Linked DNA regions of Homo sapiens: all the other regions are linked to region 3. Evidence: promoter capture Hi-C in 16 types of primary human blood cells and fetal thymus (Javierre and others, 2016). All regions are on one chromosome and are shown on one strand. Each heading gives the region's core, a stretch centred on a gene start or on the middle of the fragment in contact. The rest is flanking DNA. Distances are from core to core; before and after follow the strand shown. Region 1 overlaps ZNF420 (zinc finger protein 420). Region 2 overlaps ZNF529 (zinc finger protein 529). Region 3 holds the start of ZNF225 (zinc finger protein 225). Region 4 overlaps ZNF260 (zinc finger protein 260). Region 5 overlaps LOC105372390 (a long non-coding RNA gene). Region 6 overlaps ZNF566 (zinc finger protein 566). Region 7 has its middle 3.9 kb from the start of ZNF790.

Region 1 (4,031 bases), core at 1,235-3,734, 7.0 Mb after region 3:
AGTTCTTAATATGTAATATTCAACTACCAAGCACATACAAGACCGCGCCCGGCCAACCATTCCCTCTTTTGAAAGTGGGAAGAATGATAATAAAAACCAACAGGGAAAGGACGCAGTAGAAATTAGGTAAGAGTCTTTAGGAAGATCATGGTGAAAAACCCTTGCTTTTCTCCTCAAGTCATAGGTTTTTTTCCACACCACTTGGGTCCTCTAGGGACATGTGTTAATCACTGACTTCCTAAAGGCTTCAGAGGAGAAAGGAAGGAAGAGGCAAGAGACAGTTTATTCCAGCACAAGGAATAAAGTTATCATGTAGGTTGGAAAATCACTTATTAAAGTTGTAATTGATACGGATTTTGTTTCATATAAAAATACTACAGAAGAAAACAATAAAGTTTCTTAGACAATCACAGGTTCCCCCTCAACTATTTTACAATAAAAGATGATTCTAGCATATTCATTCAATGTCCAATGCAAGTTCTTTTTTTTTTGTTTTTTGAGATGGAGTCTCGCTCTGTCATCCAGGCTGGAGGAGTACAGTGATGTGATCTCAGCTCACTGCAACCTCCACCTCATGGGTTCAAGCAATTCTCCTCCCTCAATCTCCTGAGTAACTGGGATTACAGGCACACACCACCATGCCCAGCTCAATTTTTGTATTTTTAGTGGAGATGGGGTTTCGCCATGTTGGCCAGGCTAGTCTTGAACTCCTGACCTCAGGTGATCTACCCACCTTGGCCTCCCAACGTGCCGGGATTATAGGCGTGAGCCACCGAGCCCAGCCCAAAGTTCTTAATATGTAATATTCAACTACCAAGCACATATAAGACAATGTGTTTGTTCTAATTAATGGGTTGTCTTCATTTGAGTTGTTGGTGAAATGCATTGATCTACTCTATCACTATACAAATGATGTAAACTCTTTTATCAGAAAAAACATACATCTCTGCATCTATTTTTTAAATCTGTGACTGGGCGTGTGAATTATTTAGAGCTCCTTTAGCAGATCTAAAGTGTAACAATGTATAGGCTGTTTTATCTGCCAATATTCCAAGTATCCCAAACTTCAAATCTAGCCCTTTGTTCATCAGGGAAGATGGTATTAGAAGGCAGTGGTAAGGCTTTTTGAAGGATGGAAAAGATAAAGGTGCCCTGAGAAACCATGTCTACTTCCAGTAATTTCAAACTCCTCCTTTGAAAAGAATAAGAAATTCAGTTAATTACTTAAAAAGGAAATTTGAAATAACAGCAGAGAAAGCAGCCAATCCAAAGGTAGATCCTGAAATATGAAGGCTAGATTCCTTACCTAGTGATACCAAGTTGCTATAGTTCTCCAACATCACATCTCTATACAAATCTCTCTGAGCAGAGTCCAGGCATTCCCACTCTTCCTGAGAGAAGTCAATGGCAACATCCCTGAACATCACTAATTTCTGAAACAACAAACAAAATGTTAATTTTGGAAATTTAAAAAATGCTTTTCTTTTTTTCTTTCTTTTTTTTTTTTTGAGATGGAGTCTTGCTCTGTCGCTCAGGCTGGAGTGCAGTGGCGCGATCTCGGCACGCTGCAACCTCCGCCTCCTAGGTTCAAGCAATTCTCCTGCCTCAGCCTCCTGAGTAGCTGGGATTACAGGCACCTGCCACTGCGCCCAGTTAATTTTTGTATTTTTAGTAGAGATAAGGTTTCATCATCTTGGCCAGGCTAGTCTCGAACTCCTGACCTTGTGATTCACCCGACTAGGCCTCCCAAAGTGCTGGGATTACAGGTGTGAGCCACTGTGCCCGGCCAAAAAAATACTTTTTCAATGGAGAGGGAGATGAAGATCCCTCCACAAAGGAAGCAACAGAGCACATGGGCTGAAAAGTACAAATATGTTCCTGATTATTCCTATTGCTATAGTTTTGTTGTTGTTGTTTTGGAGACAGGGTCTTGCTCTGTCATCCAGGCTGGAGTGCAGTGGCACCATCATAGCTCACTGCAGCCTCCAACTCCTAGGCTTAAGTGATCCTGTCTCATTCTCCTGAGTAGTTGAGACCACAGTACGTGCCACTCACAGTACATGCCACTGTGCCCTGATAATTTTCCAATTTTTTTGTAGAGACAGGGGTCTTGTTATGTTGCCCAGGCTAGTCTTGAATTCCTGGCCTTAAGGCTTAGGCCTCCCAAAGTGCTGGGATTATAGGTGTGAGCCACTGCACCTGGCCTGCTACACATATTTTCTGCATACAGAACATCTTACTTTACAGATAAGTCTGGGAATAAAATAAATGCAATGTCCCAATTAAAAGAAGTAGCATACACAAGCATTTTATACAATATGTATATTGTGTATCATACATTCTCAATAAATGTAAGTTTCTCTCTTCATTATTTAAGGAATAAACAAAATGGTAAAATTTTTCTGTAAAACCTTATAAAATAAGATTTGTATAAAATTAAAGAATTTATTGAAGCTCCAGATTCACCATTAGATCAGAGTACTATATCATAAACATTTTCCTTGTCATCAATAATTTAGTAAATATTTTATAGGCTACAGAATAGCTCCATATAATGAATATGTCTGACTTAATAAGTGCTCATATTTGAACATTTTAGGTTGTAAAAATCTTGTAAGTATTTCTTGGTTCTCAGAGTTTATAATTCTCAACAACTTCTGCTGGTGAATGATCATCTTCACTATGATCATATTTACCATTCATCCGTAAATGTAACTTTTCATCATTCTAAACAATAGAAAGGTGAAAAACATAATCCAAATTTATACATTCAAGACCAGCACATAATGTCGAATTTCAAATTGATCCATATTAAATTATATGTTCCTGGGGAAGATCCCTGATCTCTCTGTATTCAGTCCCTAATCATCTTCCTAATCTTAAAAACTCATAAAGCATGAGCGCTTGCCACATACTGAGAGTGAGCCCAGTCAAGACCAACTCCTGTCTTGTCTACCTGGGAACTTAGATCTAAAGAGAAGTTCAAAAGGTTTTCATGTGTGGTGCCATTTAACATCCTCCTCTACCTTATGAAATCAGGGAACTCTACTTTTGTTAGATCAGTGTTCCTAGTCAAAGATTACTGAACAATATACATATTGTTGAGTAAGTATGTGACTAAAGGTTAGATTCGAAAGACACACTTAGGGAAGACACTATCACTTATCAGAATGGGACAAACTGAGGAGCACATTCCTGAGTGAGGTCAGTTAGGAATGAAGTTTCAGGAGTAAGGAATACAAACACACACATGCTCTGTAAAAAAGTAAGTGAAAAGAGCACAAGGAAACTCCAATTTACCCGAGCCATGGTTTTTAGAGCTGCAAGAAATGATCAGTCCTCTTCTGGGTTCCTATCTTAGGAAAGCACAGAGTCTGGAGAATGCAGAGCTACGGAGGAGAAAGCAGAACCATGAGACCAGGTGTTTTGCAAAGTAACAAATGATTCAGTTGGAATTATCTTTGTTGTTCTTTTCTTCCTGTTTCTCCCACCCCCAAAACACACACTAAGGGGGACAGACATATGTTGTGGTTCTTAACTTGATCAAACTCAATGCTTTCTATATACAAAAAGAAAATATAACAATGTCTCTACTACTTCTGAAATGAAACTCATAGGTAATAACGACACATCTATAGATGTCAAAAATGGAGATAATGAACAACTTAATATTTCAATATATTTATGATCATACACAACTACATTAGAAGGCACAAATAATTAAATGCTTATGCCTACAATTACTTATAATGAAGAAATTTAGACTTATAAAATGACAATATGTAACTAAGTATTGTTGACACCTTTTATATTTGACATTTTGAAATAAAGGCTAAATATATGTGTGTTCATGTGTACGTATAGAATAAATAGAAATGCATTATCTATAAATGGAGGTTTCTATACATATTTGCTATAGGCAAGACAAATAACACAATTAGCATTGCCATCAATACTATAACTTTTTGAAATGGTTAAAAAAAACTCAGTAAATTTCTTAAGCGAAGTAGAGCCTTTTTCTCAATCAAATC
Region 2 (3,953 bases), core at 709-3,208, 7.6 Mb after region 3:
GACACAATCTCATTCTGTTGCCCAGGCTGGAGTGCTGTGGTGTGATCTCGGCTTACTGCAACCTCCGCCTCCTGGGTTCACGCGATTTTCCTGCCTCAGCCTCCCGAGTAGCTAGGATTAGAGGCGCACACCACCATGCCTGGCTAATTTTTGGTGTATTTTTAGTATAGACAGGGTTTCACTGTGTTGGCCAGACTGGTCTCGAACTCCTGACCTCATGATCCACCTGCCTCACCCTCCCAAAGTGCTGGGATTACAGGCGTGAGCCACCGCGCCTGGCACCCATAGGCAACTTTCTTAGTCTGTTTGTGCTGCTATAACAAAATACCTGATTTATAAAGAACAGAAATGTATCACAGTTCTGTAGTTTATGAAGTCCAAGATCAAGGCATCATCAGGTTCAAATGTCCTCTTCCAAGGGTGCCTTGATGCTGCATCCTCCAGAAAGGACGTGTGTCCTCACGTGCAAAAGGGAGGACAAGGAAGTCTGCATTGAGCCTCTTTTATGAAGGCTGTAATCCCATTCACAAAGGGAGGAGCCCCTCATCACCTCTTAAAGGCTCCACCTTCTTTTTTTTTTTTTTTTTCTGGAGACAGAGTGTTGCTCTGTCGCCCAGGCTGGAGGGCACAATCTCAGCTCACTGCAAGCTCCGCCTCCCAGGTTCCTGCCATTCTCCTGCCTCAGCCTCCTGAGTAGCTGGGACTACAGGCACCTGCCACCACGCCCGGCTATTTTTTTGTAGTTTTTTAGTAGAGACGGGGTTTCACCCTGTTAGCCAGGATGGTCTCGATTTCCTGACCTCGTGATCCGCCCACCTCGGCCTCCCAAAGTGCTAGGATTACAGGCATGAGCCACCGCGCCCGGCCAGGCTCCACCTTCTAATACTATCACATTGGCAACACCTGAATTTTGGAGAGGACATGTTACATTCTGCCCCTGGACCCCCCCTATATTCATGTCTTTCTCATGTACAAAATACATTCATTTCACTCCAATAGCCCCCAAAGTATTAAAACTCATTTCAGCATAAACTTTAAAGTCAACTTAAAGGGCAGAGTCTCATCTAGGTATTATCTAAATCATGTGATTCATCCTGAGGCAAATTGCTCTCTAGTCCTGTACCTGTGAAACCAAACTAGTTACGTGCTTCCAAGCTACAATGGAATAATAATGGAATAAGGCAGACATTTCTTTTTTTTTTTCCCCTGGGCTGCAGTGCAATGGTGCGATCTCGGCTCACCGCAACCTCCGCCTCCCAGGTTCAAGCGATTCTCCTACCTCAGCCTCCCGAGTAGCTGGGATTACAGGCATGCACCACCATTCCTGGCTAATTTTTTTGTATTTTTAGTAGAGATGGGGTTTCTCCATGTTGGTCAGGCTGGTCTTGAACTCCCCACCTCAGATGATCCACCTGCCTTGGCCTCCCAGAGTGCTGGGATTATAGGCATGAGCCACTGCACCCGGCCAGGACAGACATTTCTATTCCAAAACAGATAAATAAGAAAGTATGGGTCACTGGTCTCAAGTAGGTCCAAAACTGAACAGGGCAAACAACAATAAACCTTTAGCCTGGAGAATAATCATCTTTGACTCCTTGTCGCATGTTCCAGACACACTGGGATGGGGGTTGGACCCCAAAGGCCCGAAGGGTCCCTGCCACCATGGCTTTGGTGTGCACAGTTCATACTGCAGCTCTCATAGGTTGCAGTCAGGTGCCACTGGCTCTCTCCCAGGCCCATGTTGCATGCTGCTGGCTCTACAGGTCTAGGGTTTGGGGAGTGGCACAGCCTGTATGACTCCACTGGACAATGCCCTAGGGGGGACTGTCTGCAGTGGCTCTGCCTCTGTAGTAGGTCTCTGTCTAGGCCCTGAGGCTCTCCAAGGCATCACGTGCCTGTAATCCCAGCTATTTGGGAGGCTGAGACAAAAGAATTGCTTGAGCCGGGGAGGCGGAGGTTGCAGTGAGCCAAGATCGCACCACTGCACTCCAGCTTGGGCAATACAGTGAGAGTCTGTCTCAAAAAAAAAAAAAAAAAGAAATCTCTTTGAAGGATGCCATGCTTCCACATCTTGTGCACTCTGCACACTTGCAAAATCAGTACCATGTGGATGCTGAGGTTCACCACTTTGCCCTCCAGAGCAGGGACTAAACTGCACCTGGGCCCACTGGAGCCACAACTACGGCAGCCAAGGAGCACTGTGCCGGGATGTGGGGAGCAGAGACTTGAGGCAGCCCCGGGCAGCAAGCCCCAAAGTTCCATGAGTGTTCTACGCCCTTCCCTGGAAACCATCCTGCCTTCAAGGCCCTCGCACTGTGGGCCTGTGATGGGAGGAGCAGCCTTGAAGCTCTCTGAAGTGCCATTGGGTTCATTCTCCTATTGTCATGATGAAAACACCTGGCTTCTTTCTAGCCACACTCTGATCAGAAAGTCACTTGGTCACACCCTTGGTTTACTTTCCTAAATACCTTTTTATTTACATGCTTAGGCTGAGAATTTTCAAATCTCTATATTTTGCTTCCGTGTTATAAATCCCATCTTTGTATTGTTTCTTCTCACATTTTACTCTGAGTAGTTAAGAGAAGCCGAGCAGCACCCTGAACACTTTGCTGCTTAGAGATTTATTCTGCCAAATATCTTACTTCAGAAACAGCTTCTGATTTATATTGGCTTAATTCAAGTGAGATAGAGAAATTTACTCCTATATAACTCTTATTTCCTTTCATCTTCTCTTATAGTAATATTGGTCTTCACATTATATCTACAGATGTTTCAAACTCAACCAATCGTTGTTGTAATTTTTACCTTATATAAGTCTATGTTTTTAAAAAAAAATGAGAAGAAAGGAGAACCTTTATACATTTATAACTTTTATTTTATCAATCTGATTTCTCACTTTGGGTTCTCCTCATTTGGTCCAGATGGATTCGAGTTACCATCTGGATTCATTTCCTTAGCCCAGTACAACTTTGCTTTCCCCTGCCTTGTGTTATTATTAGCAAATATATTACATTTCTGTATGTTATGGGCCCAATAAATACATAAGTACACGTTTCATAAAATTTGTATATCAGTTAAGAGGAGAAGAGATATATATGTATACTGTCTTTTATAATTACATAAAACTGGCTTGCTTCTCTTTTTTTTTTTTTTTTTTTTTTTTGAGACGGAGTTTCGCTCTTGTTGCCCAGGCTGGAGTACAATGGCGTGATCTCGGCTCACCGCAACCTCTGCCTCCTGGGTTCATGTGATTGTTCTGCCTCAGCCTCCCGAGTAACTGGGATTACAGGCATGCATCACCACACCCGGCTAATTTTTTATTTCAGTAGAGACCAGGTTTTTCCACGTTGATCAGGCTGGTCTCGAACTCCCAACCTCAGGGGATCCTCCCGCCTCAGCCTCTCAAAGTGCTGGAATTACAGGTGTGAACCAACGCACCAGGCCACTTCTCTTTGTTTTTTCTTATGGATTTGTATTACTGCCTGGGATCACCTGTTTTCAGCCTAAAGAGCTTCCTTGAGTACTTTTTAAGGTCAGTCAGCTAGCAATAAATTCAGTTTTTATCTGGAAATGTCTTTTCATCTTAAGTTTTGAAATGTTCTTAAGTTTTGAAATATAGGTTTGCTGCATAAGGATAACCACCCCCCTCTGTTTTACTGATATATAATTGACACATACATATATGTATACACACACATACAAACACACTTTTATCTGTCCATCCATTGATGGACACTTAGGTTTCCATACCTTGGTTATTATGAATAATGCAGCCATGAAAAGGACTGCAAATATCTCTTCAAGTTACTGACTTGGCCATGTGTGGTGGCTCACGCCTGTAATTCCGGCACTTCGGGAGGCCAAGGTGGGTGGATCACGAGCTCAGGAGTTTGAGACCAGCCTGGCCAACATGGTGAAACCCCGTCTCTATTAAAAATACAGAACTTAGCTGG
Region 3 (3,879 bases), core at 158-2,657:
GGGCACGGTGGCTCATGCCTGTAATCCCACACTTTGGGAGGCCAAGGCGGTTGAATCACCTGAGGTCAGGAGTCTGAGACCAGCCTGGCCAACATGGTGAAATCCCTTCTCTACTAAAAATACAAAAATTAGCCGGATGTGGTGGCAGGCACCTGTAATCCCAGCTACTTGGGAGGCTGAGGCAGGAGAATAGCTTGAACCCAGGAGGTGGATGTTGCAATGAGCTGAGATCGTGCCATGCACTACAGCCTGGGCGACAAGAGCGAAACTCCGTCTCAAGAAAAAAAAAGAGAGAGAGAGATTTACCACTTCTGTGGTATTCCAGCAAAAAATGCATATTTTGAAGTTAAACGTGAAATACATCAGAAAAACTCCAAATGAACATCTTTGACCAAAATAACTTCATCTATACTCTTCAAAAATAACAAGGATAAAATACCAAGAAAAAACGATGAAAGCTATGCTATCTTTCAAGATTAAAGACTAGAAAAACATGACAACTGAAAGCAACACCCATGCCCGAAGACACATCCTATACACTCTCGGTTGGGGTGAGCATCTCTGTCAAAGAAAAAAGCCAAGGATCACTCACGTAGAGCTTTGCCCTCAGAAGCCAAGAAGTCCCTCCCTGCAGCTCTTTTGGAAAGGTCGGGCTGGGTAAGGAGAAGGCTGTGAAACACTCTGACCGTGGTCGCCGTGCCCCATAAAAGTTAAATGCTCCTCTCCCCTCCTGGAAGTGGATGCAACCCTCGCCTTCCTAAAAGAGAGGTCAGAAGGCGTCCGGGATCACCCAGCGTCTTGCAGGAATCAGGGAGAAGGGCCGGTGCCCCTGCAGCTGGAGTTTCACCCCACCCGGGGACCTGACAGGCTTCGTGGGAAATTAACAAGAGACCACCAGTCACCAAGTGACAGGGGCTGCTTTAAGGCTCTCATTTGTGTTACCGCTTTCAGTTCCCAAAACGATTCTATTAGGATGGTCCTAAACTCCCCATCTTAAAGAACTGTAACGGGAGACCCAAGGAGATTAAGTAACATCCCAGCGTTTTATCGCGAGGAAGTGGCCACGCGCGTGGGGTGCAGGGAGGCCGAGTGGGCGAGCTCAGAGCCCCGGAGACCCTAAAACCAGGCGAGACGCGACCCGACCAAGTCCCAAACACCCCGGGGACGCGAGGAGAGCCCCAAGCCCAAGAAGGCTCCACTGACGAGAACGAAAACAGCGGCCCCGCTCCGCCAAACCTCTGCTCTCCGACGAGGTTTCTTTTCCCCTAATTCGATCACCAGTTCGTTAAGGATCCAATGCGTAGGTCCAGGAAATTCAGAAGGGTCTCGCGGAACTGACCCAAACTACCAGGGACAAAACTGCAGCAACCTCACAGTAACGGAGCGGAAGTGGCCCGCTACTCCACTGAGTGTCTGGACTCCACTTCCCAGAATTCCTGAGACAAACTGACCGCGACGACCCCGAGCGTCTGGACTACACTTCCCAGAATTCCCTGGGATCCACCTGCCGGAGTCAAATTGACCGAGACTCCACTGAGCGTCTGGACTACATTTCCCAGAAATCCCCTGATTCGCCTGCCGGAGCCAAGCTGACCGCTACTCCACTGAGCGTCTGGACTACCATTCCCAGAATTGCTTGTATCCTCCTTCTGGAGCCAGTGTGTACGACTCCACAGAGCATTTGGATTACACTCCTCCGAATGCTGAAGGAAAAACGCTCAAAATCTCATTCTTCAGGGGGAAGCGTTGCCACTCCGAGGTGCCCACTGGGAACGAATCCCAAAGCCACGAGCGCCTGCCTAGTGGGGAATGTGAACTGTTATCCTGAGAGTCGTCCTTCTCTCTCCCTGGTCCAGGACAGAAAATACTGAATAGACAGGAATTTCTGAAGTCTAAACGCCTCCAATGATAACAGGAGTGTTATTGGAAAGGGAACAAGCGAGAAGACACAGTCTTCGAGGAGTTAAGTTTTGCTAATCTAATGGTAAGAAATGGTTTCTAAATGTAGTTTTAATTTGTATTTGTTCTTTTGTAAATAAAGTGGAACATCCGTGCATATTTTCCGTTGCCACTATTATAGTCTTTGTGAATTGGTCAAATAGTTTGCCCACATTTCTATTGAGTGTTTAGTTTTTTCCCCTCCGTTAAGTATTATTTACATACTCATATTAACATTGTATCAAATATTGCTCAACCAAAAAGCTTTTTTCCTTTGACTTGTTTTTCGCTATGCAAAACGTTTTTAACGTGGTCGTTTTATTATTTAAAAAATATTTTTGAGGTGTAATTCACAAAACAAAATTATTTTAAGGCACATAATTCAATGGCAATGGCATCTAGTACGAATACAGTGTTGTTAATATATACGAGTTAAGAAGCCATCACTTAGGCAGATAGGGTATGGGAGCCCTCGGTAAGGCTTTTCTTTTTAATGAAAAGCAGCCCCAAATTATTTCCCTTCCTAAGGAAGAGCAGCCTGTAAAATCCAGCTGCCGCAGACATAGATACCAGCAGTTGTGCCAATCATGTTAAAGATGGCGGCTCCATCTTCCCTTCTCTTTGTCAGCCACGTGCACAGTAAGAAGCTGGCAAGATGGGCCAATCAACTGGGAAGCCTATTTGCATAAGAAGATTAGGGTGGGGCGACCAGCCTTCCCCACGCACTATGTAAACGTCATAACTGATCGAACCAATCTATGACCCCTATGTAAATCAGACACTGCCTCCTCAAACTGGTCTGTAAAACTCAGCACATTCACTGCCAGCCGACCCTTTTCCGCTCGGAGACCCCTTCCTCTATGGAGGAACCCGTTTCTCTTTCTCTTCTTCCTATTAAACCTCCGCTCCTAAACTGAGGAGTTTTTGTGTGTCCGTGTCCTAAATTTTTCTGGCGCTTAACGACGAACCCCGGGTTTAAACCTCAGACAAAGTAGCTGCTTCATTGTGAAACCACCACCTCTTGAATTACAAAACATTTTTATCACCCAAAGAAAACCCCATGCCCACTAAGCAATCACTACTGTTGTCCATAATCCCATTCCTGGGGAAACATGAATCTTTCTCTCTTTTCTATTACCTATTTTGGACAAATCATAAAAATGAATGGAACATTTTGTTTCTAACTCCCTTTGCTTAGCATAATATTTTTAATGTTATTCACATCATACCACGTATCAGTACTTCATTCCTTTTCATAGATGAATATTTTATGTTTATACTACAATTTGTTTCTCCATTCATACATTGACGCACATTTGGCTTCTTTTCACCTTTTGGCTGTAGTGAACAGTGTTGCTACAAATGTTCGTGTATACGTATTTGTTTCATTACCAGCTTTCAGTTTTGGTTGTTTTTTGTTTGTTTTTTGTTTTGAGAGGGAGTTTCGCCTCCCGCGTTCAAGCGATTCTCCTGCCTCAGCCTCCAGCGTAGCTGGGATTACAAGCATGTGCCACCACGCCCGGCTAATTTTGTATTTTTAGTAGAGAGGGGGTTTCTCCATGCTGGTCAGGCTGGTCTCAAACTCCCGACCTCAGGTGATTCACCCGCCTCGGCCTCCCAAAATGCTGGGATCACAGGCGTGAGCCACCGCGTCCAACCGTGTATTCCACTTCTTTCTGCTGCTGAGACACAATAATTTCAGATGACTTCTCTTTATATTCACTCATTCTGAATACAGCAAGAGTAGGGAGATGAATATTAGGTGCACTTACCTGTGGCTTCAGAGCCTGCACAAACACAATCTCATATATACCACTTCCAAATGGAATACTAATCTGCACATGTAACTTAAAAAGGTGCAGGGGTCAACACCCGATTCATGATGGAAAGCATAAGTCACATGTTAATTTGGTGGTCTGTGGTCAAGTGTTCTGTCCGTTT
Region 4 (3,662 bases), core at 766-3,265, 7.6 Mb after region 3:
TAATATTTGCTTCTTTGTTTTGTTTGCTTAGTTTTCCATTTTTGTGTTTTGATTCTTCCCAAGCTTTCAGACAGAACTGTAAAACCTAGAAGTCTAAGTTGGAAGTAACTTATGGTTAGGATTATCCATTGTCTTGCAATCTGATGCCTTTTTGATGTGGTATGTCTTTTTCTTTTATTTCCTTTTATAGGATAAATGTTTTGGAACATTTAGGATTTTTTTTTTTTGTTAAGACAAGGTCTCACTCTTGCCCAAGCCGGAGTTCAGTAGGGTAATCATAGCTCACTCTCCTGGGCTCAAGCCATCGTACCATCTCAGCCTCCCCAAGTAGAAGGGAGTACATGTATATGCCACCACACCCAGATAATCTTTTTTATTTTTAGTAGAGACAAGATCACACTGTGTTGCACAGGCCGGTCTCAAACTAGGATCCTCTTTTTATCCCTAGGTGAAATTTTGTATTGATGTGCTTTCGCCGCTATCTTTTTAAATGGAATGTTCTTTGTACTCAATGGGCCTGCTAAGTATGTGGACTCATGATTTGTAATTCTGGGAAGTGTTCTTTATTAGCTCTTTGAAAATGTCCTGTATTCATTTTTCTTCATACTTTCTTTGGAACTTCTTTAGTAGATGCTGATCCTTCCAGATTCTTCCACTAACCCACTAAATGTTCCAACCATTACACTCTTTCTTTCTGCCTTCCTCCATTCTTCCTTTTTTTATTCTAGGAGATTTTCTAGACTTTCTTTCCCCAACATACTGAATTTTTAAGATCAATTTCATATTGTTTATTTCTAAAAACACCTCTTTATAGAACACTGTTAATATTTCATTGCAGTGATAATAGTAATCTCCTAACTTTCCATGATATTAATTGTAGTATTATATGGGTGAGTTTTTCTGCTCTTTGCCTTGTATTTTGTTTGATCTGCCTTTGATGTTAGGACTTTCATCAAATGTTTTCTGATCTTTAGCTCTATATTAATTTGTGTATGTAAGCGGGGCTTATGAAATGGTGGTTTTCACTGTGCATCAATCAGTAATATAGATGTGTTTCGTTAGATGATTCCAAATGTTAGCATCTGTAGGTGTTCTCATGGTCTTCTCATTTTTTCAGAAAATAATTCTTCCGGGCCGGGTGCGGTGGCTCATGGCTGTATTCCCAGCACTTTGGGAGGCCAAGGCGGGTGGATCATGAGGTCAGGAGTTCAAGACCAGCCTGGCCAACATGGTGAAGCCCCGTCTCTAACTAAAAATACAAAAATTAGCCGAGCGTGGTGGCGGGCACCTGTAATCCCAGCTACTCGGGAGGCTGATGCCGGAGAATCCCTTCACCCGGGAGGCAGAGGTTGCAGTGAGCCGAGATCGCACTGCACTCCAGCCTGGGCAACAGAGCGAGACTCCGTCCCAAAAAAAAAAAAAGAAAGAAAGAAAAAAGAAAATAATTCTTCCATCATCTGACAGCTAGTAACCACCAGCATTCTCGGACTCTAACAGTAGAAGAGCCTCTGTTATGTGTATAAACTTTTACTCATTCTTCTCTTACTAGGATGCTCTCATTACTTTGCTGGTCATCACTAAATTTGGAGCCTCTTGGTTTTGTCTGGATGATAAACTTCACATTTCTGTCCAGCTAGGAGAGTTCAGGGCATTAGCTGGTCCTTTCACAGTCATTTTGTAAGCCCTGCCTTCCACTCTTGCCCAGTTTCTCCACTGACAGAGCATATCTGTCAATATCTGTGTTACAGACCTGTGAAGGTGGCCCCCACATCTGCTGGCTTTTCTTTAAACCACTCAGTTCTGCTGTTAATTTACAGTTCTCTATTTGCTTTCTTTCCAAAATTTCCTAATACTTTTTTTTTTTTAGAGACAAGGTCATACTCTGTCACCTAGGCTGGATTGCAATGGCATGATCATAGCATACTGCAGCCTCGAACTCCTGGGCTCAAGCGATCCTCCTACTTCAACCTCCCAAGTAACTAAGACTACAGGTGTATGCTACTGCACCTACCTAATTTTTAAAATTTTTGTAGAGATAAAGCCTTGCTGTGCTGCTTAGGCTGATCTCAAACTCCTGGCCTCAAGCAGTCCTCCTGCCTTGGCCTCCCAAAGTGCTGAGATTACAGGAAGGAGCCACTATCCCTAGTCCTCCTAATACTTTTTGTCCACTGATATCTTCTTAACCGTTTAGTTCTTATGTGTCCTTCTTCACCCTTTTACTGTCATTTTAATGGTGTTTCGGGAAGACATAGAAATAAGCACCTTATTTAAACTTTTCTGTTCATTTTATTTTTGCCCTGTCTTCCTATGCACTCCCAGTCTTTTAAGTATTTGTCCTTTCATCCTGTTTCTCACCGATTCCTTATGTTTTAAAGACCAAGTCGGCCGGGCGCAGTGGCTCACGCCTGTAATCCCAGCACTTTGGGAGGCCAAGGCGGGCAGATCACGAGGTCAGGAGATCGAGACCACCCTGGCCAACGTGGTGAAACCCCGTTTCTACTAAAAATACAAAAAATTGGCAGGGCATGGTGGTGGGCGCCTGTAGTCCCAGCTGCTCAGTAAGCTGAGGCAGGAGAATGGCGTGAACCCAGGAGGCGGAGCTTGCAGTGAGCCGAGATCATGCCACTGCGCTCCAGCCTGGGCGACAGAGCAAGACTCCGACCCAAAAAAATAAAATAAAAGACCGAGTCTTGCACTGTCACCCAGACACTGGCACGATCATAGCTTATTGCAGCCCTGAAATCCTGGGCCTAAGCAATCTGCCCACCTCAATCTCCTCAGTAGCTAGGACTACAGGCACCATGCCTGGCTAGTTTTTAAATTTTTTATAGAGACGAGAGTCTCGCTGTGTTACCAAGGCTGCTCTCAAACTCCTGGCCTCAAGCAATTTTCCTGCCTCACCCTTCCAAAGTGCTGGGATTATAGGTGTGAACCACCATACCTAGCCTTATTTTCTCTCATTTTACTGATTTATGAAGTGTGCTGGGTTACATTGAAAAGCAATTAAAATTACACATACCTGGGAATGTTATTTGTATTTGAACTTTATTTTATAATGAGACTAGGCTTGGATAAAGAATCTATTTTACAGCCGTGCGCAGTGGCTTATGCCTGTAATCCCAGCACTTTGGGAGGCTGAGGTGGGCGGATCACCCAAAGTCGGGAGTTTGAGACCATCCTGGCCCACATGGAGAAACCTTGCCTCTACTAAAAATACAAAAATTAGCCAGGCATGGTGGCGGGCTCCTGTAGTCCCAGCTACTCGGGAGGCTGAGGCAGGAGAATTGCTTGAACCTGGAAGGCAGAGGTTGCGGTGAGCCAAAATCGCGCCATTGCCCTCCAGCCTGGGCAACAAGAGCGAAATTCCATCTCAAAAAAAAAAAAGAATCTATTTTACAGTAATACATTTCTGAAATTATATTAATAATGGGAAACTTCAAAGGTGTTAGTGATATTATGTTGATGATAATGATAACCTAATTTATTGGACGCTTATTACATGCCAGGCACTATATATTATATTAACTTTTTCAATTATGATTTTTTTGTACTTCCTTTTAGAAGAAGCCTGGGAAGTTTATAAACAGATAAAGACGCAACATGAAAGACTTGTAAGTTAAGTCTCATCTTTCTCTGTGAAAAGACAGACTGAGGGAAAATTT
Region 5 (3,640 bases), core at 494-2,993, 7.0 Mb after region 3:
CTGTATTTGCTTTACCAAATAATTAGCCTTGTATCCAGCCCTGTATTCATCCATAAGGATGAATTGATCCATTTTTTGTTGTATTTCAAAGTTAGTTGTAGACATCGTATACTTTACCCCTAAATACTTTAGCATGCATACCACTAACTAAAGTTCAATATCTAGTTACAGCTTTTTAGGTAAAATGTACATACAGTAAAATTGTGTAATCTTAAATTTACCATTTGAAGAATTTTGACAGATTCAAATACTTGTGCAAACCAAAATCCTGTCAAAGTGAAGAAAAATACCATCACCCTAGAAAGTTCCTTCATGCTCCTTCCTAGTCATTTCCCACTCTATATCCAGAAACAACTGCCATTCTGATATTTTCCCATTGTAGATTAATTTTTGTCTCTTCTAGAACTTCGTATAATTGGGATTGAAATATGTGTTTTTTGTATGTAAGGCTTCTTTCACTCAGTATAATGTTTTAAAAATGTATCCATGTTGTATGTGTGGGTGTTTGTGGTATACTCAATAGTTCTTATTGCTGAGTTGTATTCCACTCTATGATTGTATCACAGTTTATTCATATTCTTGTTGAACTTTTGTGCTATTTCCAAGTTTTTGGCTATTATGAATAATAGTGTCATAAACATTCTTGGACATGTCTGTTTATGAACATCTGTTTTCATTTCTCTGGGGTAACACCTAGGAATGGAATTGTTCAGACACAGTGTATAGGTGTATGTTCAGTTTTATAAGAAACTGTCAAACCATACCCAAAGGGATTGCACCATTTTACACTCCCATTAACAAAGTATGAGAGTTTCAGTCTCCCTACCTCTTTGCCAACATTTGGTGCTGTCTTTCTGGCTATATATCTCATTACTGTCCCACAGTATTTTTAATTTACATTTTTCTAATGACTAATGATGTTGATCACTTTTTATGTACTTATTGGCAAAACATCTTTCTTTGTGAAGTATCTGGTCAAAATTTTTGCCCATCTTTAATTGGTTTGTTCATCTTTTTATTGTTGAGTTATAGAAGTTCTTTTTTTTTTTGAGACAGACTCTTGCTCTGTCACCCAGGCTGGAGTGCAATCTCGGCTCACTGCAACCTCTGCCTCCCGGGTTAAAGCAATTATCCTGTCTCAGCCTCCTGAGTAGCTGGGACTACAGGCGCATGCCACTATGCCCAGCTAATTTTTGTATTTTTAGTAGAGACGGGGTTTCACCATATTGGTCAGGCTGGTCTCGAACTCCTGACCTTAGGTGATCCACCCGCCGCAGCCTCCCAAAGTGCTGGGATTACAGGCGTGAGCCGCCGCGCCTGGCCGAGTTATAAATGTTCTTAGTCATATTTTTAACAGTGTCTTTTGATGAGTAAGAAAAACATTTTTGATAACATTTGTCAATTCTTTTTCTTTTGCAGTTTTGCTTTCTGTGACTTAACAAATTGTCTACTGCCAGGTTGGAAATATGTTTACATATTTATTCTTTCTAGAAGCCTTAGAGTTGTAGCTTTTTATATTAGTTCTAGGATTTATGTTAATTTTTGTTCATGGTGGCAGGTAGGGGTTGAAGTTCATTTATTTCTTTTTCTGTATGGATATCAAGTTGTTCTAGTGCCATTTATTGAAAATGCAAATGGTATTTTCAACAGTGGAGGTCTTTGGCACCTTTATTGAAAATTAAGTGACCACTGTACGAGTATTTTCTTGTATCAAATTACCACAAATTTAGTGACTTAAAACAACACAAATTTATTAGCTTTTAGTTCTGTAGGTCAAGAAGTTCAGACCTCACTGAACTAAATTTAAAGTGGCAGCAATGCTGCATTATTTTCTAGAGGCTCTAGGGAGAATCTGCTTCCTACTCATTTAGGTTAATAGGCAGAATTCAGTTTCTTGCATCTGTAAGTCCAATGTCTCCATTTGCTTGCTGGCTGTAAGCCAAGGGCCATTCCCAGCTTCAAGAGGCTGCCACATTCCTTGGCTCACGGCCCCCTTCCTCCATCTCAAAAGCCAGCAATAGAGGGTCAAGTCCTTCAAACATTGCATCTCTCTGATCCAGCTGGGAAAGTGTTGGGAAAAAGCTGAGGGTTAGGAGAAGCTGAGGCAGGGCTTGCATGTCTGACATAATGTAAAAGAGTCTTGGAACATGTCCGGGGTCCAGGGTCTAAAACCCCTTGTGGCCTTTGGAACACCAAGCTCTATGCTAAAGGGTGGAAGCCTACCATCATGCACCATAATCTAAGCCCAGGGCATAAAATCCCTTGTGGCTTGGATAGAATCCAGGGCTCATGGCTCTGGAATGTATCTAGACTTGCTGGCTCCTTGCTCCTTGCTCTCCCAGGATTGATTGTATCTTGAGTTAAAAGAATCTGCTCTCCATTATCTCAAGTAGAGCAAATGCTAAACCATCACAGCTGTAAATCATGTACTTAATGCAATGTGCCCTTTTGACCTCCACATTCTCACCACCTGTTTCTTTGTTGGATTACCAATAAATAGCATGGGCTCCCAGAGCTCGGGCCTTCGCAGCCTCTACGATTGTGATGGCCCCCTGGGTCCGGTCCCACTTTTCTCTCTCAAACTGTCTTTTTCTCAATCCTTTGACTCCGCCGGACTTTGTCACCCCCACGACCTGGTGTTGGGTCTGATCACCCCAACAGGAAAGATTCTTCATTTTCCCTTCTCTTCCTAATACTGTAATCCTAAATCCATTAGGGGCTGAGCAAGCTAGGCATACATGCCGGTGCAGTTACTTAGGCCTAAAGCACTGCACTGTAGCTTGAGCACAATGAGGAGGTATCTATCCAGGGAGAGTATGGCGGCAGTAATGGGATAGTGGCTTCTTCTAGGGGGGACTGATCAAATATGTTTCATATACATAAATACACACATAAAATATATATTTTACTACTATTATTATTTCCTCTGATAAAAATCTGCGTTCTTTGAAGAAATGATTGATTCCAGTGTTGGGCACAGCAAATACAAGATGAGCCTGGAACATCTTTTATATGTGTAAGTAAGGGGCGCTCAAAGAATGATAGGAACCTGTTAAAGGCCGCAAAACCCACACAGGAGGGGCTCCCACTTGCCAAATCTGGAGCAAACTGGTCATTAAAATAAGTAATAATAGATTACAAACCTCTGAATGAAATAGGAAATCACAAGTCTATACTGACATAAATTAATAAATTGAAAGTTTGATGAAGAATGGTGTGTTTACATAGTCTCAGAGTACCTCCCCATAAAATCTTTACTAATTACAAAGGAAAAAAAGAGTAATTTTACAGTAGAGAAGCCTGGCTGGTATATCTTAGTGATTAAGATGTAATGCTCTTTCATCAAGGAGTATTACCAGTAATAGGATAGAATGTCATCATGTGCCCCTGATAGGAGCATGCATCACTTTTGTGGCATTCTTTCTACAACTCGGAACCTTATCATGAGGAAACATCAGAGAAAACCAAATTGGAAGGAAATTCTTCAGACTGGCTTATAATAATAAAAAGTGTCAAGGTTATAAAAGGGCAAGACTGAGAAACTGTATCAGACTAAAGGAGATTAAAGAGACATGACATCTAAAGGCAATGCATGATTCTAAATTTGTTCCTTTCATGCTATCCAGTTAATGGCACAATT
Region 6 (3,524 bases), core at 353-2,852, 7.6 Mb after region 3:
CGCGCCACTGCACCCCAGCCTGGGTGACAGAGCGAGACTCCATCTCAAAAAAAAAAAAAAAAAAAAGAAACTATGCCAAAATCCTATTTCTCATCATGTTTTCTCACGCATTAGTTTTAACATTCATTGATAATTTTTACCTGTAACAATTATTACTGTGATGTTTGCCTAGCGGTGATTTTCTCCTTCTATCATTTCTTACACTTTGATAATTTAAATTCTACTATAAGGAAGAGCTGTCTCTTCTTGCTCCTGTTAAAAGTGAACTAAATGTGGCCTGAGAAGGACTTTGTACTTCTATATTTGAGTCCTTATGGACGAACTGTAACCTAACAGGTAGACAGAATTGGAAACCTAACTTGTGTGCCTGTAACAGTGTATGTGCCTGTAACAAGCTGAGTCTTGGCTAATCCCAGCAGCAATACTTCAACCACTCATACACTGCTGAGTGTTCAAACTGTGTTAAGTAAGGCAAACACTGTCTGGGCACAGAGGCTGGCGCCTGTAATCTCAGCACATTGGGAAGCCGAGGCAGGCGGATCACCTGAGGTCAGGAGTTGGAGACCAGCCTGACCAACATGGTGAAACCCCATTTCTACTAAAAATACAAAAAATTAGCCAGGTGTGGTGGAGTGCACCTGTAATCCCAGCTACTCAGGAGGCTGACACAGGAGAATTGCAGTGAGCTGAGATCGTGCCATTGCACTCTAGCTTAGGCAACAAGAGCAAAACTCCGTCTCAAAAAAAAAAGGCAAACAAGAACTTGTAACCAGTTGAGCTGTTTCTCCACCTCACTTCTGATTTTTGTATGTCACTTCCCTTTTTTTTGTCTATAAATTTGTTCTGACCACGAGGCATCCCTGGAGTGTCTCTGAATCTGCCGTGATTCTGGGGGCTGCCTGATTTGCGAATCGTTCATTGTTCAATGAAACTCCTTTACATTTAATTCAGCTGAAGTTTTTCTTTTGTCCCCATTTGTTTATTCAATTATTTACCTATGGACTCATGGATATTTATTTTATTCTATTCTCTATTATTATTATTTATTTATTTTGCTGTTCAAATTTTCCCATATTTGGCCATCAGAAGCTCCTTAAGTTGGCTCTTGTGTCTTTTCAACGTGTGATCATTTTTTAAAGCTTCCCCCCAACCCCGCTTTCTGGGACATAAGATGTTCCAGGTTCATCTTGTATTTTCCCTCTTCCATCTCTGGGCTCAGCAATTTCTCCAAGCAGCATTAATTTCTTTTATTGGAGAATGAATTTATAAACCAAGATCTGGGCACTTGGTGTGCTTATTGCTACTGGTGTGTCTTTGCTCTGGTTCTGGTCAGTGGAGAGAGTGAGAAAATACACAAATGTCTACATGCACATTTATGTCTATTTATTTGTTTATATGTTAAAAACACACCAGTTTACACTCATATGTTTAATTCTATTCCAGTACCACAGGGTATTTTCTTTTCCCAAGAACTATGAACTATCTGAGATTTTACCCTAGTTGTAAGCTAGTAAGTTGGCTTGTCAGTTTCACAGATACGTTCAGAAAACATGAGACTTCTGAGTCTGAGACAAAGGATGCTTTGTTGCTCATGGCAATCTTCAGAATATCTACATTCTCATGGTACTGATTCAGTCATACACCCAGGATTATGCAAAATACACAGGTATCTGTGTGTTCCCTTGACCTTAGGAAACCTGAATTTTTTATAATGGATAGTTAGAATGCCTACCCTTTGCTGTAGAAGGAGACCGACTCTGTCTTCCAAGGCTGTTCACTGTATAAACAACTTGGTAAAATAGTGCAGAACAAAAACACTTAGTACCTCTTCTTGCAAGATACGCAGAAACATGCAAGACCCATGGAGAATTGTCTCCCATCAAATTTGGCCATTTCCTTGTTACTTCATTTTCCAACAGAGAGAAACCTGCTTCTCAGAATCAATAATTAGCTCTATCCTAGAATACATGCAAATTAGTTCAGAGTTGCCAACCTGGACCTGTGTAAAAAGTATTTAGTAACTACAGTAGAGAATCTCTGTGTAGCTCTTTTTCTTTAAGCTTATAGTATATAGTAAACAAACATCTTCCAAAGTTACTCAATTTAGTTCTTTTCTTTGCCACTCTTTTCAGTATGTTTTTTTTTTTTCTTACATTTTTCTTACATTTAAGGATCATTTGTTGCATTTTGGGTTCCCCCACATCCTGGTTGATTGTAGCAGGCTACACTATTTTGAATGTGAAAACATTCGCAGGGGACAGTGGCTCACTCCTGTAATCCCAACACTTTGGGAGGCCGAGGCCGGCGAATCACGAGGTCAGGAGATCAAGACCATCCTGGCTAACACGGTGAAACCCCGTCTCTACTAAAAATACAAAAAATTAGCCGGGCGTGGTGGCGGGCGCCTGTAGTCCCAGCTACTGGAGAGGCTGAGGCAGGAGAATGGCGTGAACCTGGGAGGCGGAGCTTGCAGTGAGCCGAGATCGCGCCACTGCACTCCAGCCTGGGCGACAGAGCGAGACTCCGTCTCAAAATAAATAAATAAATAAATAAAAATTAACTTAGTTCCCACAGACTCCTTGTATATATTCAACTTCATTCGTTTCTGCTTTATCCTTGCTGTGTTTCTTTTGCACAAATGAAGAGTTACCTATATTCTTTTTACATTAAAGATAGCATTCTCTAGGCACTCTTTTGTACATTGTTTCTTTCTCTTAATGATACATTCTGGATAACACTCAGGCAGTTAAAGAGATATTCATAATTCTTTTCTAATTGTTACATAATACTGCAGCCTGTGGATTTATCATAGTTTATTGAACCGCTTTCCTACGTATGGATATTTAGGTCATTTACAATATTTTGTTACTAGAAACAGTGCTGCAATAACCTTGTATATATGTATTTTTCTATTGCTGGAGGAGTATCTTTAGGGTAGATTCCTAGAAGCGGTATTGCTGGGTCAAAAGGTAAGTGCTTTGTAGTTTTGTTAAGTATTGCAAAATTCCTCTCTAGAACTGTTGTACCAGTTTTTATTCCTACTTGCTGTGTATGAGCATGTCTGTTTCCCTTCACAGCCCACCTAACAGAATATGTTGTCATGTTTTTTAGTTTTCACCAGTCTAATAGATGAGAAATAGTACCTCAGTGTTCTTTTCTTTTTTTTTTTTTTTTTTTTTTCCCGAGACAGTGTCTTGCTCTGTTGCCGGGGCTGGAGTGCAGTGGCGCGATCTCGGCTCACTGCAACCTCCGCCTCCTGGGTTCAAGTGATTCTCCTGCCTCAGCCTCCTGAGTAGCTGGGACTACAGGCGCGTGCCGCCACGCCCAGCTAATTTTTGTATTTTTGGTAGAGATGGGGTTCCACCATGTTGGCCAGGCTGGTCCCAAATTCCTGACCTCAGGTGATCCACCAGACTCGGCCTCCCAAAGTGCTGAGATTACAGGTATGAGCCCCTGTGCCCAGCCCTCATTGTTGTTTTCTTATTTCTCTCATTATGAGTGTGTTTGAACATTTCAGAGTCTTT
Region 7 (3,752 bases), core at 444-2,943, 7.3 Mb after region 3:
TATCACCACACCCATCTAATTTTTTTATAGAGGTGAGGTTTTGCCATATTGCCCAGGCTGATCTCAAACTCCTGGGCTCAAGCAATCCACCCAGGCATTCCCAAAGTGCTGGGATTACAGGAATCAGTCACCCTGCCCGGCCTTTTTTTTTTTTTTAATTTTTTTTTTTTTTTGAGATGGAGTTTCGCTCTTGTTGCCAAGGCTGGAGTGCAATGGTGCAATCTCGGCTCACTGCACCCTCCACCTCTGGGTTCAAGCAACTCTCCTGCCTCAGCCTCCCGAGCAGCTGGGATTACAGACATGTGCCACCATGCCCGGCTAATTTTGTATTTTTAGTAGAGACGGGGTTTCTCCATATTTGTCAGGCTGGTCTCGAACTCCCAACCTCAGGTGATCCACCCACCTTGGCCTCCCAAAGTGCTGGGATTACAGGTGTGAGCCACTGTGCCTGGCCGACCTGTTTGTTTTTTCAGAGTTTTCTGTCATACAGTCCTGTCTCGGCATGCTTAATACTTTTTAAAATTAAATTCTGGACTGGTGTATAAAAATAGTAGAGGCTGCAGATAATATCTTCCTTTAGAGAATTCATCCTTTCCTTTACTGGGCAGATCAAGTAGGGGCTGATGACCTTCATTTAATCAGTGATTGAGTTGAGTCAGGGCTCCATTACGGTTGTGGAGGTTCATTGTGCTTCTGGTTTGCCTGCTCCTAGGACGTAGCCCATCAGGGTTTCAGGAGGATCTGGTGTGTTCACCAAGGCACCTTCCCCTGACAGGGCCTGAACTCAAAATCTTTGTCTTCTTAATCCAGCAAGACTACCAAAAACTCTGCTGCTTTTTGGAAGCTTTCCGCCTAAGTTCCTGAGCCTCCTGACCCAACCAGTTTCAGAAATGGGTAACTGTCTTGAGAAGAAAACCAGCCTTATGTAGAGTTCAAGTCTGTGTCCCTCTTTTCTCACAGGGATCTTGGCCCATAAAGTCTCCAATGTTGTGTTTTTAGGCCCAGAAAACTAAAGTCCTAGCAGTCTGGATCCTTCTGCCCTTTGCCAAGAATTGGCAAATAATCCAGGAAAAATGTGGCTGCACAATGTCTGTGATTACCTACAATCTATAGTCTTGACTACGCTATTCCTGGTTGTCCCAAACACTCCTTCATGTCTTTTTTTTTTTTTTTTTTTTGAGATGGAGTCTCACTGTTGCCAGGGCTGGAGTGTGGTGGTGCGATCTTGGCTCACTGCAACCTCCACCTCCTGGGTTCAAGCGATTCTCCTGCCTCAGCCTCCTGAGTAGCTGGGATTACAGGCATCCGCCACTACGCCCAGCTAATTTTTTGTATTTTTAGTAGAGACAGGGTGTCACCATGTTGGCCAGGCTGCTCTCGAACTCCTGACCTTGTGATTCACCTGCCTCAGCCTCCCAAAGTGCTGGGATTACAGGCATGAGCCACCGCGCCCAGCCCCTCATGTCTTTTTCATACAGGAAAAAAAAGTTAAAAAGCTTTGTGTTTTTTTTTTTTGTATTATATCTGATTTTTTAGTTTTCTGCAGGAATACTGGTTTGCTGCAAGCCACTCCATTGTATCCCTAAAGTGACTTTTATAGTTTCATTCTGACTATATTATTAACTTTGTTTCATTGGATATGAAGGTGAATACCTTTTTAAATATTTAAAACTTATTATTTCCATGAACTATGTTTCCTTTGTCTGTCTCACTATAATACTAATTTTTTAAATTCTAGAAATATTATTCACTTTTATTGAAATGTATGAGCACTTTATATATGGTGGAAATTAGTGATTTATAAATCTCATATAGGCACATTTTATAATATTTTTTCCTGGTATCTATCTTTTTATTTCCGTTTATGCCCTTTGCACATTTTAAGCTTGAGGTTATTTGTTTACTTGTTGAGTTTTGAAGGTTCTCTATATATTCTGGATACAAGTCCTCTGCCTGATATATGATTTACAAATATTTTCTCCCAATCTATCCCATGTCTTTCTCCTTAACGGTGTTACTTCAATAGCAGACGTTTACATTTTCTATGAAGTCCAGTATATCAAGTTGTTCTTTTATGGATTGTGCTTTTGTTGTCATGTCTAAGAACCCTTCATCTAACTGCAGGTCATGTACACTTTCTTTTATGTGTTCCTAAAAAAGTTTTATAGGCTAGGAGTGGTGGTTCATGCCTGTAATCCAAGCACTTTGGGAGGCAGAGGCGGGAGGGGCGCTTCAGGCCAGGAGTTTGAGACCAGCCAGGGCAACATAGTGAAACCTTGTCTCTACAAAAAAAAATAATAATAACTTCTCCCCTCCCCCCACCCCCCACCCCGAGATGGAGTCTTGCTATGTCCTCCAGGCTGCAGTGCAGTGGTGTGATCTCGGCTCACTGCAACTTCCACTTCCTGGGTTCAAGCAATTCTCCCTGCCTTACCACATCCAGCTAATTTTTGTATTTTTTAGTAGAGATGGGATTTCGCCATGTTGGACAGGCTGGTCTTGAACTCCTGATCTTAGGTGATCCGCCTGCCTTGGCCTAAAAATATATATATATATTTTTTGAGATGGAGTCTTGCTCTGTTGCCCAGGCTGGAGTGCAGTGGTGTCATCTCAGCTCACTGCAACCTCCATTCCCCAGGTTGAAGAGGTTCTCATGTCTCAGCCTCCTGAGTAGCTGGGATTACAGGCACGAGCCACCATACCCAGCTAATTTTTGTATTTTTAGTAGAGATGGGGTTTCACCACATTGGCCAGGCTGGTCTCAAACTCCTGACCTCATGCGATCCACCTGCCTTGGCCTCCCACAGTGCTGGGATTACAGGCATGACCCACCGTGCCCAGCCTGTTCCTTCCATTAATCTATCTTTCTGTCCTTCACCAAAAACACACTGTCTTGATTACTTAGGGCATCTCAACCTTGGACCATTATTTGGGACTGGATAATTCTTTGTTGTGGCAAGCTATCCTGTGCTTGTAGTGTATTTAGCAGCTTCCCTGACCTCTGTCCTCTAAATGCAAATTGTACCTCTCCAGTTGTGACTACCAAGAACTTCATACTGTGCTGTATATCTCCTGGAGAACAAAATCACCTCTGGTTGAAAAACATTATGGTAAAGCTTTGAAAATATTAATAATATTTTAAATTCCTTTTTAGATAGTTCCAACATCTACATCATATCTTTTTCTTTTCTTTTAATTTTTGAGGTAGGGTCTTGCTTTGTTGCCCAGGCTAGAGTGCAGTGGTGCAATCACAGTTCACTGCAGCCTCAAGCTCCTGGGGAGATCCTACCTGAGTCTACCTCTATTTGTTTGTTGTTGCTTTTTGCTTTTATGTCTTGAGTGTCATGATTTTTCTTGCCTTTTCATGTGTCTTGTAATTTGATGTTGCTGAAAACCATACATCTTTAGGACAGTAGTGAGCAGAAATTAGTTAACATAGCAGGTCTGAGACTACTTATCCTTAGAAAGGCCTGATATGCGAGGTTAGTCTTTGGCTTGCATCTAGAACTTGAATTTCAGATTGGTTCCCACCTTCCTAATAAGTGGCTTACTATGCCTAAACTTTTTGTACAAACAGTATGGTTTATGTTAAACACCCGCTTTCCTTCTGGGAATTTGAAATTCTGGTATGTGTTAGGCACAGACTGCCTATGTGACCAGCCCCCAATAAAAACATAGGGCACTGAATCTATAATAAACTGCCCTGATTGGTAACATCTCACATGTATTGTCACAACTCACTGCTGGGGAAC

The links. The method cuts DNA at HindIII sites, captures the fragments that hold promoters and counts their contacts. A CHiCAGO score of 5 or more calls a contact.
Region 1: a contact is called between a fragment that was not itself captured here and the fragment with the promoter of ZNF225 in region 3, in 6 of 17 cell types (non-activated CD4 T cells, activated CD4 T cells, total CD4 T cells and 3 more). The highest score is 25.8, in non-activated CD4 T cells.
Region 2: a fragment that was not itself captured here is called in contact with the fragment with the promoter of ZNF225 in region 3 in 2 of 17 cell types (naive CD4 T cells and activated CD4 T cells); the score reaches 7.8 in naive CD4 T cells.
Region 4: a fragment that was not itself captured here is called in contact with the fragment with the promoter of ZNF225 in region 3 in 1 of 17 cell types (non-activated CD4 T cells); the score reaches 9.2 in non-activated CD4 T cells.
Region 5: a contact is called between a fragment that was not itself captured here and the fragment with the promoter of ZNF225 in region 3, in 1 of 17 cell types (naive CD8 T cells). The highest score is 6.1, in naive CD8 T cells.
Region 6: a fragment that was not itself captured here is called in contact with the fragment with the promoter of ZNF225 in region 3 in 5 of 17 cell types (naive CD8 T cells, naive CD4 T cells, total CD8 T cells and 2 more); the score reaches 10.9 in naive CD8 T cells.
Region 7: a fragment that was not itself captured here is called in contact with the fragment with the promoter of ZNF225 in region 3 in 3 of 17 cell types (monocytes, non-activated CD4 T cells and total CD8 T cells); the score reaches 8.8 in monocytes.

What each region holds. Positions count from the first base shown.
Region 1 is chr19:37,088,397-37,092,427 of GRCh38, reverse strand. ZNF420 (zinc finger protein 420) reads right to left here. Exons shown (of 5, transcript NM_144689.5): 3 at 3,301-3,389; 4 at 1,307-1,433. The coding sequence starts at 3,309. Among named protein-coding and RNA genes, the nearest start is that of ZNF420, 12 kb to the right of the region's middle. The HindIII fragment of the contact is 6,334 bases long and covers 1-4,031 here.
Region 2 is chr19:36,559,468-36,563,420 of GRCh38, reverse strand. All of the region lies in intron 2 of ZNF529 (zinc finger protein 529), which reads left to right. Among named protein-coding and RNA genes, the nearest start is that of ZNF529, 12 kb to the left of the region's middle. The HindIII fragment of the contact is 5,321 bases long and covers 1-3,953 here.
Region 3 is chr19:44,110,927-44,114,805 of GRCh38, reverse strand. ZNF225 (zinc finger protein 225) reads right to left here and starts at 1,407. Exons shown (of 5, transcript NM_013362.4): 1 at 1,237-1,407. It overlaps ZNF225-AS1 (ZNF225 and ZNF224 antisense RNA 1), which reads left to right and starts at 1,623. Exons shown (of 2, transcript NR_033341.1): 1 at 1,623-1,984. RefSeq lists an enhancer at 954-1,653 and a silencer at 1,346-1,696. The HindIII fragment of the contact is 4,811 bases long and covers 1-2,204 here.
Region 4 is chr19:36,515,599-36,519,260 of GRCh38, reverse strand. ZNF260 (zinc finger protein 260) reads left to right here. Exons shown (of 3, transcript NM_001166037.2): 3 at 3,562-3,662. Among named protein-coding and RNA genes, the nearest start is that of ZNF260, 11 kb to the left of the region's middle. The HindIII fragment of the contact is 3,899 bases long and covers 66-3,662 here.
Region 5 is chr19:37,063,844-37,067,483 of GRCh38, reverse strand. LOC105372390 (a long non-coding RNA gene) reads left to right here. Exons shown (of 2, transcript XR_001754095.2): 2 at 1-2,582. It also overlaps a transcript of ZNF420 not described here. Among named protein-coding and RNA genes, the nearest start is that of ZNF420, 13 kb to the left of the region's middle. The HindIII fragment of the contact is 6,364 bases long and covers 1-3,640 here.
Region 6 is chr19:36,481,130-36,484,653 of GRCh38, reverse strand. The region is part of intron 1 of ZNF566 (zinc finger protein 566); the gene reads left to right. Among named protein-coding and RNA genes, the nearest start is that of ZNF566, 6.7 kb to the left of the region's middle. The HindIII fragment of the contact is 921 bases long and covers 1,142-2,062 here.
Region 7 is chr19:36,840,429-36,844,180 of GRCh38, reverse strand. It overlaps a transcript of ZNF790 not described here. Among named protein-coding and RNA genes, the nearest start is that of ZNF790, 3.9 kb to the right of the region's middle. The HindIII fragment of the contact is 389 bases long and covers 1,499-1,887 here.